2 separate regions of the Homo sapiens genome follow, and region 1 is linked to region 2. The links are contacts of gene promoters, found by promoter capture Hi-C in blood cells and fetal thymus (Javierre and others, 2016). All regions are on one chromosome and are shown on one strand. The core of a region is centred on a gene start or on the middle of the fragment in contact, and the rest is flanking DNA. Distances in the headings are between cores, read along the strand shown.

Region 1 (4,691 bases), core at 112-2,611, 120 kb after region 2:
AAAAGTTTCCTTTGAGACCCAATAAAGAAATTAGTATTACTACATAATGCATTTATTTACAAGTCTTTTTTTGCATGTCCATTGTAAATTTAATATTTTAATTTACAATGAGTTTACAAATAATTTTTACAAATAAATGTTACAAATAAAAATAATTTACAATGAGTAAATGAGTTGGAATTTATTTACATGCTTATGGCTGCCTTTGATTAAACTTCTTCCAAAAATAAACTCTGTCCAGATGTTGGGTTTTATTATACTTAATTTCATTTTAATGTTATTTCATGTGAGATTACTTGAATACAAGCTGTTGCATAATTGCTCCCAAGTGGAGTCTTTGCTGTGCACTTGCATACCCCAGAGTGGGAGGTTTGGGGATTCTGAATGGCCAGGGCAGCGTGTGGGTGTACCTTCACAGGCCTGATGTGTGAGCCTTCAAACACCGGGGTGGAGGAAGTGATTAAATAGAGGATGCAATGGTCTGGAGGCAATTTATAGCCCAGAGACCATACCTGGGGCATTTCTCTTCCTTATCTAGCACACAAAGTAGAACCGTGACACTCGGGCGTCACTGACAATGAACACAAAGGGGCTGAATGTCGGGAATCCTGCAGACGCCAGGAAAGAGGTACTTCTCAGCCATTGGCTTGGATTCTGAATCTGGGTTACGCACAATGACAAAATATCAGCTAGAGCATGAGAGGAGACAAACATGCTCACCAGGATGAGGATGGTGTGTGTGGTTGTGGTTTCATGAGATGTTCTGCGGGAGAGGTTGCGGCTGCGAACATGTTGGACTCTCTGCTTGTATCTATGCAGGACGAGGACCATGGAGCTGCTGGTGCAGATCATGAGGGAGACACATATACGGGAGACACATATACCATCTGTGCAGCAGTAAATGACTGCAACTATTACATACAGCGATCTTCCTGGATAGGGTGAGGAGCAGTATCTATACATTTTTTCCATACTCATGTTTTTGCTCTTTATTGGGTCAGTTATTTACTTTGCAGTATAAATATTTACAACAAGATTCAAGATCCAACAGAGGAAACAGCAGAAAACTATAAACTTTGGGGATCTAATTCAGAGTTCCATCTTCCCAGAGATACTGGGGTGAAGCTTCATGGCCTGGAAGCCACTGAAGAGGCAGGTGGTGCTGAGGGAAACCCCTCTGGCCACTCTGTGTAGGTAGAAGACAAGTTTACATCCAGCCTCATCCAGGAAAGGTTTCAATCCAAAAGCCGCCACTGTCTGAGGGATCCCTTTAGAGAAAAGAACCGGGTTGTTGGCTAAGACCAGCTGGCTGAGAATCAGGTCTCTGGGTCTCACTATTTGTGTGGGGACAAAAGTAAAGCTATAAAAGTAAAGGAGTAGAGAATTTCCAAGGATTCCAGCAGCGGTCTGAATGAGAAAGGTAATACTCCAATTTAAGTTAACAGAAACCATCTCCATTTAGAGGAGATGTTGGAGTTTGATTCTATTTTCATCAGAGGAATCTGTAGACTGAAAAATACAATTGAGTGTTTTCACTGTACCCGGTTTCATGCGCTTCCGTGTGAAGAGACCACTAAACAGGCTTTGTGTGAGCAGTAAAGCTTTTAATCACCTGGGTGCAGGTGGGCTGAGTCCAAAAAGAGAGTCATCGAAGGGAGATAGGGGTGGGGCCATTTTATAGGATTTGGGTAGGTAAAGGAAAAAGAGGGGTTGTTCTCTGGTGGGCAGGTGTGGGGGTCACAAGGTGCTCCGTAGAGGAGCTTTTGAGCCAGGATGAGCCAGGAGAAGGAATTTCACAAGATAATGTCATCAGTTAAGGCAGGAACAAGCCATTTTCACTTCTTTTGTGGTGGAATGTCATCAGTTAAGGCAGGAACCAGCCATCTGGATGTGTATGTGCAGGTCACAGGGGATATGATGGCTTAGCTTGGGCTCAGAGGCCTGACACCCAGAAAATGCCTTTTTCTCACGAAACTCATTATTCCAGGTGAATACAAACATTAAGAACAAACTTGTACAATTACAAAGCTATTTATTCCAAAATTATGATTTGTAAAACTACAATGACTTGAACCCACTTAATTTCAATCAAAGAAAGACTCAATAAATTCCTGGGCCTCCCCACAGTGGAGTCCTGGGCAGCTGTGGGTGAGATGAATGAGTTATCTTGAAGGCTGACCTTCCAAGACGTGTAGTTGTGTAGTTGGGGTGGCAGGGAGAAAAGAAAAAGAAAGATTCAGGACGTTATCAACAGTTAACTTTATTTTACTCAGAACCAGAGAAAAATGGTATAGTGTTATGTCATTGTGTGTGTATTTTGTAATCTATTTTTTAAAATGAAAGATTAATCAATACCTTTAAAAGTGGGTAGTTGAGAGAGAGAGAGAAAACAGTGCAGAGGAGACAGAATAAAGCTAGACTGACATCATTGTGTCTTGTTTCTTGTTTTGGTATAGAAATATAAACATACCTTTGGGAGGCTGAGGTGGGCGAATCGCAAGATCAGGAGTTCAAGACCAGCCTGGCCAACATGGTGAAACCCCACCTCTACTGAAAATAAAAAGATTAGCTGGGCATGGTGGCACACTCCTGTCATCCCAGCTACTCGGGAGGCTCTGACAGGAGAATTGCTTGAACCTGGGAGGTGGAGATTGCAGTGAGCTGAGACTGTGCCACTGCATTTGTAGGGACCAGCCCCACAGGGTCGGTGGGTCTCTCCCTGTGTGTGGTGACGATAGAGTGTAGAAATAAAGACACAAGACAAAGAGATAAAAGAAAAGGCAGCTGCGCCCGGGGGACCACTACCACCAATGCGCGGAGACCGGTAGTGGCCCCGAATGTTGGGCTGCGCTGTTATTTATTGGATACAAGGCAGAAGGGGCAGGGTAAAGAGTGTGAGTCACCTCCAATGATAGGTAAGGTCACGTGGGTCACGTGTCCACTGGACAGGGGGCCCTTCCCTGCCTGGCAGCCGAGGCAGAGAGGGAGAGGAGACAGAGAGAAAGACAGCTTACGCCATTATTTCTGCATATCAGGGACTATTAGTACTTTCACTAATTTACTACTGCTATCTAGAAGGCAGAGCCAGGTGTACAGGATGGAACATGAAGGCGGACTAGGAGCGTGACCACCGAAGCACAGCATCACAGGGAGACGGTTAGGCCTCCGGATAACTGCGGGCGAGCCTGACTGATGTCAGGCCCTCCACAAGAGGTGGAGGAGCAGAGTCTTCTCTAAACTCCCCCGGGGAAAGGGAGACTCCCTTCCCCAGTCTGCTAAGTAGCGGGTGTTGTTCCTTGCCACTTACGCTACCGCTAGACCACGGTCCGCTTGGCAACGGACGTCTTCCCAGACGCTGGCGTCACCGCTAGACCAAGGAGCCCTCTGGTGGCCCTGTCCGGGCATGACAGAGGGCTCGCACTCTTGTCTTCTGGTCACTTCTCACTGTGTCCCCTCAGCTCCTATCTCTGTATGGCCTGGCTTTTCCTAGGTTATGATTACAGAGGGAGGATTATTATAATATTGGGATAAAGGGTAACTGCTACAAACAAATGATTAATGATATTCATATATAATCATAACTAAGATCTATATCTGGTATAACTATTCTTGTTTTATATTTTATTATACTGGAACAGCTCGTGTCCTCTGTCTCTTGCCTCGGCACCTGGGTGGCTTGCCACCCACAGCATTCTAGCCTGGGCGACGAGCAAGACTCCGTTTAAAAATATATATATATACATATATAAACATATTCCTGAATGTCTATACTATAAAATATTTTTAAATATAACTTATAAATCTAAAGATAATACCTTAAAAAAGGAAATAGAATTGAGTTCCTATCAAATTAGGGCATTACTAAACAAGGAAGAATTATTTGTACTAGAATGTAAGCAAAATTACTTGACCATATATTTTATAATGCATATATTATTTATCATATTATATAATAAATGTATACTTTTAAATCAAATTATATATTATGTAGTGACATATAGTTAATATTATTATATAATTTTGACTATATATAGTAAAACATAAGTGAATACACCCTCAAAAATGTTTAATTCTTAAAATATGTATGGTCAAAAATTCTAAATTTCATCCTAGAGAAATAGCTGACTCCACATTCGGAGAGAAAATACAGGAGATGAAGTCAGAACTTCTTATCATGCAAGAAAGCAAAGACATCACCACATACCATCAGATTCATGTTACCTGAACATAAAGTCTATCATGAAAAGTTCCCAATGGCAAAATGTGGAATATTTATAGAATCAAATAATATAGGTAGTGTATTAAAACTAATGAATATGTTCAAAGCCTATCAGTTTACTACTGTTAAAAACAAAATTAAAAAACAAAAAACCCCTCAAATATGAGGAATGGGAAAAGAACAAAATCTCCACATCAAAAACGTGGAAATGAAGGCAAGAAGCAAGATCTCTTTTGTTTATCTGAAGTGTTACACAGGAAACATTCTTTTCTGTAGAATGTTTCTACATAATAATAAGTATAGTAATAGCTATAGTAATGTTTTTGCCTAAGAATAGCTGTAGAGTTTTTGCATAATAATAGTTAACCCTGCAAAGCTTGGATAACCTGTGCGTTGAGTATACAAGCAATAAACATCAATGGCTGCCAAAACCCTTAGGCTGAAGGTTGATAGTGAATATAATAACGAGTGG
Region 2 (4,730 bases), core at 1,650-4,149:
CTTAGCCTCCCAAAGTGCTGGGGTAACAGGCATGAGCCATCACGCCCGGCCAATATTTTCTTTTCTCTAGCTTAATTCATCATAGGAATACAGAATATAATACATATAGCATATAAAATATGTGTTAATTGACTATGTTATTGGTAAGGCTTCCAGTCAACTACGAGTAATGTTTTTTTTAAATCCTGAGACAGTGTCTTGCTCTGCCAGCTGGGCTGGGGTGCAGGGGCATGATCTTAGTTCGCTGCTGCCTCAACCTCCTTGACTCAAGCAGTCCTCCCACCACAGCCTCCCAAGTAGCTGGAACTACGGGCACACACCACCACACCCAGTTAATTTTTCTGTTTTCTGTAGAGTCTGGGTTTTGCCGTGTTGCCCAGGCTGGTCTTGAACTCCTGGGCTCAAGTGCTCTGCCCACCTCAGCTTCCCAAATCCCACCTGGGGTTACAGGTGTGAGCCACGGTGCCTGGCCTAGTAGTTAAGTTTTGGGGAAGTCAAAAGTTATATGCAGATTTTCTTTCTTGATTTTTTTTTTTTTTTTTGAGGCAGTCTTGCTCTGTCGCCCAGGATGGAGTGCAGTGGTGCGATCTCGGCTCACTGCAATCTCCACGTCCTGGGTTCAAGTGATGCTCTTGCCTCAACCTCCTAAGTAGCTGGGATTACAGGCACCTGCCACCACGCCTGCCTAATTTTTGTATTTTTAGTAGAGACCAGGTTTTGTCATGTTGGCCAGGCTGGTCTCGAACTCCTGACCTCAGTTGATCCGCCGGCCTTGGCCTTCCACATAGTGCTGGGATTACAGGCGTGAGGCACCGCGCCCAGCCTATATGGAGGTTTTCGGCTGAGCTGGGGGTCAGTGCCCCTCGCCCCCAGACTGTACAGAGTCAGCTGTGTTAAGATATTAAGCACCTTCAGTACACAAGACTCTGTGCTGGTTTTCTTTTCTTTTTTTTTTTTTTTTACTCTAAATCATCAAACCCTATGAGGAAAGTCCTGTTACTTTCTCCCATTTAGCACTCTTGAAGAGGCTAATTTGCCTAAGATCAAGAGCTCGTCAGTGACTGCTGAGGTTCAAACGCAGATCTTTTTTAAGACTTGAGAACCTACAGGTTCAACCACCATTATAAAACCATCTCTGTAATCACGAGGCACCCGGAATTTGTGGAGCTTGGACTTCATCCTGAAGGGAGTGAAAACTTATGGAAGTTTTTTCCTTCCACGTTTCCCCCTTCCAGATGAATAATATACGCGTGTTCAAGATACAAAAATGCATAAAATTTGGCCAGGCATGGTGGCTTACACCTGTAATCCCAGCACTTGGGGAGGCTGAGGCGAGTGGATCACTTGAGCCCAGGAGTTCAAGACCAGCCTGGGCAATATGGCAAAACCCCGTCTCAAAACAACAAAACAAACAAACAAAAAACCCATAAAACTGAACAAGGTAGTTTGTAAGATATGGAAGTACAATGCAGATGACAATAATGACGATGGTAGCTACCACTAGGCGCTTTATTTATGCCACTCTCCTCAACACTGGATAGACTCTCACTTAATCCTCACAAGCTTATGAGGTAGGCGCTACCATCATTCGCCGTTTTACAGAGGAGGACGCTGAGGCACAGAGTGATTGAGAAACTTGTCGAAGGCACTGCAGCTGGCAAGTGGTGACGTGGCATTTGAATCCAGGCATCCGGATGGTGTGGATGCCGTGGAAGAGAAAGGGGCGGGTGGGACTGCTTCCTGAGGAGATAGTGACTGCCGAGGCAGCAGCGTAGGGAAGACAACTGAAGAACACGAGCTGTGGAGACAGACCATCGCATTCGGAGTGGAGAGATGGGTGTACAGACAGACAATAACCAGACTATATATAAAAAGAGAACTCTAGGTCAGGCGCGGTGGCTCACACCTGTAATCTTAGCACTTTGGGAGGCTGAGGCGGGTGGATCACTTGAGGTCAGGCGTTGGAGACCAGGAGTTCAAAACCCCGTCTCTACTAAAAATTTAAAAATTAGCCGGGCATGGTGGTGGGCGCCTGTAGTCCCAGCTTCTCGGGAGGCTGAGGCACGAGAATCGATTGAACCCGGGAAGCGGAGGTTGCAGTGAGCCGAGATCGCACCACTGCACTCCAGCCTGGGTGACGAGAGCGAAAAACTCCGTCTCAAAAATAAAATAAATTACTGATAATAGTACTAATACCCCTTAAGTGGCTATTGATAATAATAGTACCATGGGTGGGGGGGCAACTTCTCTGAGAGTGCTCTGTAAGTATGTATTGAAGATTGAGTAAATACATTTAAAATTCTTAGAACAGTATGTGGCACATAGCGTTCCAGAATGCCACATTATTGTTAGTGACAGAAATAATCTCGGCTGGGCGCGGTGGCTCACGCCTGTAATCCCAGCACTTTGGGGGGGCCACGGCGGGAGGCTCTCTCGAGGCCGGGAGTTCAAGACCAGCCTGGGCAACATGGCAAGACGCCGACTGTTAAAAAAAAAAAATGCTACCCGGGCGTCGTGGCGTGTGCCTGTAATCCCAGCTACTGGGGAGGAGGTGGGAGGATCGCTCGAGCCCGAGAGGTTGGTCGGGGCCTCAGTGAGCCGAAATCACGCCACTGCACTCCAGCCTGGGCGACGGAGCGAGACCCTGTCTCAGAAAGAAAAAGAAAAACCACCGTCCAGGGGCGGAGAAGGAAGGTTCTCCCTACTTCTCAGGTTTCCACTCCCTGGCCGGAAAAAACCTAGTCCTCCCAGGTTAGCACGCCGCTCTAGCCCAGCCTCACGTCTCCACTGCTTCTCAGCCAGCCAACGCCTCTTCTGATTGGCTCTGACGTGCGTGGTGCGTGAAAACGTCACGAGACGCCGGCGTTACTATAAGAGCGCAGCCGTGGCGCTTCCGCGCCTCTTTCTCAGTGACCGGGTGGTTTGCTTAGGTGAGGTGCGGTGGTGTGCTTTTTCTCTAGGGTTTGGGTTGGATGGTGGCCCGGGCCTTCCGAGTTTCCATGAGTAAGCTAAAGACGTTAGGAAACAGAGCAGGGTGGTTGAACGGGAGTGCAGCACGGTTGTGGGGGCAGATACTGACTATGAGAGCGTTGGAGGTTATTCTCGCGAGATCGGATCTGGGCTCCGCGAGGTTTTGGCGTAGTTGTGGGACTGCGCAGGCGCCGTTTGGATCCCTTACGCTCACACTTCTCTCCCGCGCAGGCGCAGACGGGGAAGCGGAGCCAACATGCCAGTGGCCCGGAGCTGGGTTTGTCGCAAAACTTATGTGACCCCGCGGAGACCCTTCGAGAAATCTCGTCTCGACCAAGAGCTGAAGCTGATCGGTGAGTGGCCAAGGCTTCCGGGAAGTGGTTCGGCTTCCGGGAGGCGGTTAGCACGTGGATGAAGGTGCCCATGTACTCTATCTAGTCCGTCCCCTAAATTTGGTACTATTCGTGGTTTAGGAAGGTTTTGTGATTCCAAAGCTGCCAGTCTAGTTGTTGTGCCAGTACGTGGGACTACACTTGTCCACCCCCTTCTCCCCACCAGGCGAGTATGGGCTCCGGAACAAACGTGAGGTCTGGAGGGTCAAATTTACCCTGGCCAAGATCCGCAAGGCCGCCCGGGAACTGCTGACGCTTGATGAGAAGGACCCACGGCGTCTGTTCGAAGGTGCGTATGGGAGTCCACAGCAGAGGGATGGGGTGCAGGGCTTGTGAGGTTCATTCTCCCTTCTGTTGCCTCTGTTCCAGTGATGAGAGTTGTGTCATTGGATAAATGGAACCAGCCTTCTAACTTTTAGTGGCACTTGTGGAGTAGGAAAAGTGTATCTGGATCAGTCTTTGCCCTGTTTCTTAGGTGTGTGGCTTTTTTGCCCAGTTATTGGACCTTCAGTTTAGTAATGACCAGAGCTAAAGATAGGCCTGGCACACCTGGGCACCCGTCTATATCTTTATATTCTGTTTATGTGGCCTGTTTGCTAGTGGATGAGAGTAGACTATGAAGTGGAATTTCTGGGCTAAGTGATGGTGATAACAGGGTTTGCACATTTGCTTGGTTTATTGTTTTTTTAATTAAGTTTTCTCGTTTTATTTAGTCTTTTGAGACGGAGTCTTGCTCTGTTGCCCAGGCTGGAGTGCCGTGGCGCCATTTCGGCTTACTGCAACCCCCGCCTCCTGGGTTCAAACAATTCTCCTATCTTAGCCTCCCAAGTAGCTGGGACTACAGACAGGCGCACGCCACCACACCTGGCTAATTTTACTTTTGAGACGGAGTCTCGCTCCATTGCCCATGCTGGAGTGTAGTTGTCGCAATCTTGGCTCACTGCAAACTCCGCCTCCAGAGTTCAAGCGATTCTCCTGTCTTAGCCTCCTAAGTAGCTGGAATCACAGGCATGGGCCACCAAGCCTGGCTAATTTTCTATTATTAGTGGAGATGGGTTTTCACCATGTTGTCCAGGCTGGTGCTTGTTTTTTTAAGCTGGTCAAGGACATTTAGGTGGTATTTAGCAAAGGCCTGAACAGGAGAGAACCTGTAAAATGTCTCAGGGAACAGCATTTCAGGTGATGACTTTAGGAGGGCATGCAGATCACATAGACTTAGGCTTACTTTACTAATTGTGGTGAAATACACATTAAATTGAAAATGTACCATCTTAACCATCTTGTTTTAAAATCTACTCTGAGATGCGGTGTTATTGGAGTGCTTTCTACAGCAGATTGGCATGACCAAGATTGGCATTTGTATATCCT

The links. Contacts are between HindIII fragments. The CHiCAGO score rates a contact against its expected background, and 5 or more counts as called.
Region 1: a contact is called between a fragment that was not itself captured here and the fragment with the promoter of RPS9 in region 2, in 2 of 17 cell types (neutrophils and M1 macrophages). The highest score is 5.5, in neutrophils.

Annotation. Positions count from the first base shown.
Region 1 is chr19:54,319,700-54,324,390 of GRCh38, forward strand. It overlaps the pseudogene VN1R104P. Among named protein-coding and RNA genes, the nearest start is that of LILRA5, 8.9 kb to the left of the region's middle. The HindIII fragment of the contact is 476 bases long and covers 1,124-1,599 here.
Region 2 is chr19:54,197,959-54,202,688 of GRCh38, forward strand. RPS9 (ribosomal protein S9) reads left to right here and starts at 2,900. Exons shown (of 5, transcript NM_001013.4): 1 at 2,900-2,930; 2 at 3,202-3,323; 3 at 3,529-3,651. The coding sequence starts at 3,227. RefSeq lists an enhancer at 2,288-2,957 and a silencer at 2,720-3,213. The HindIII fragment of the contact is 3,345 bases long and covers 1,562-4,730 here.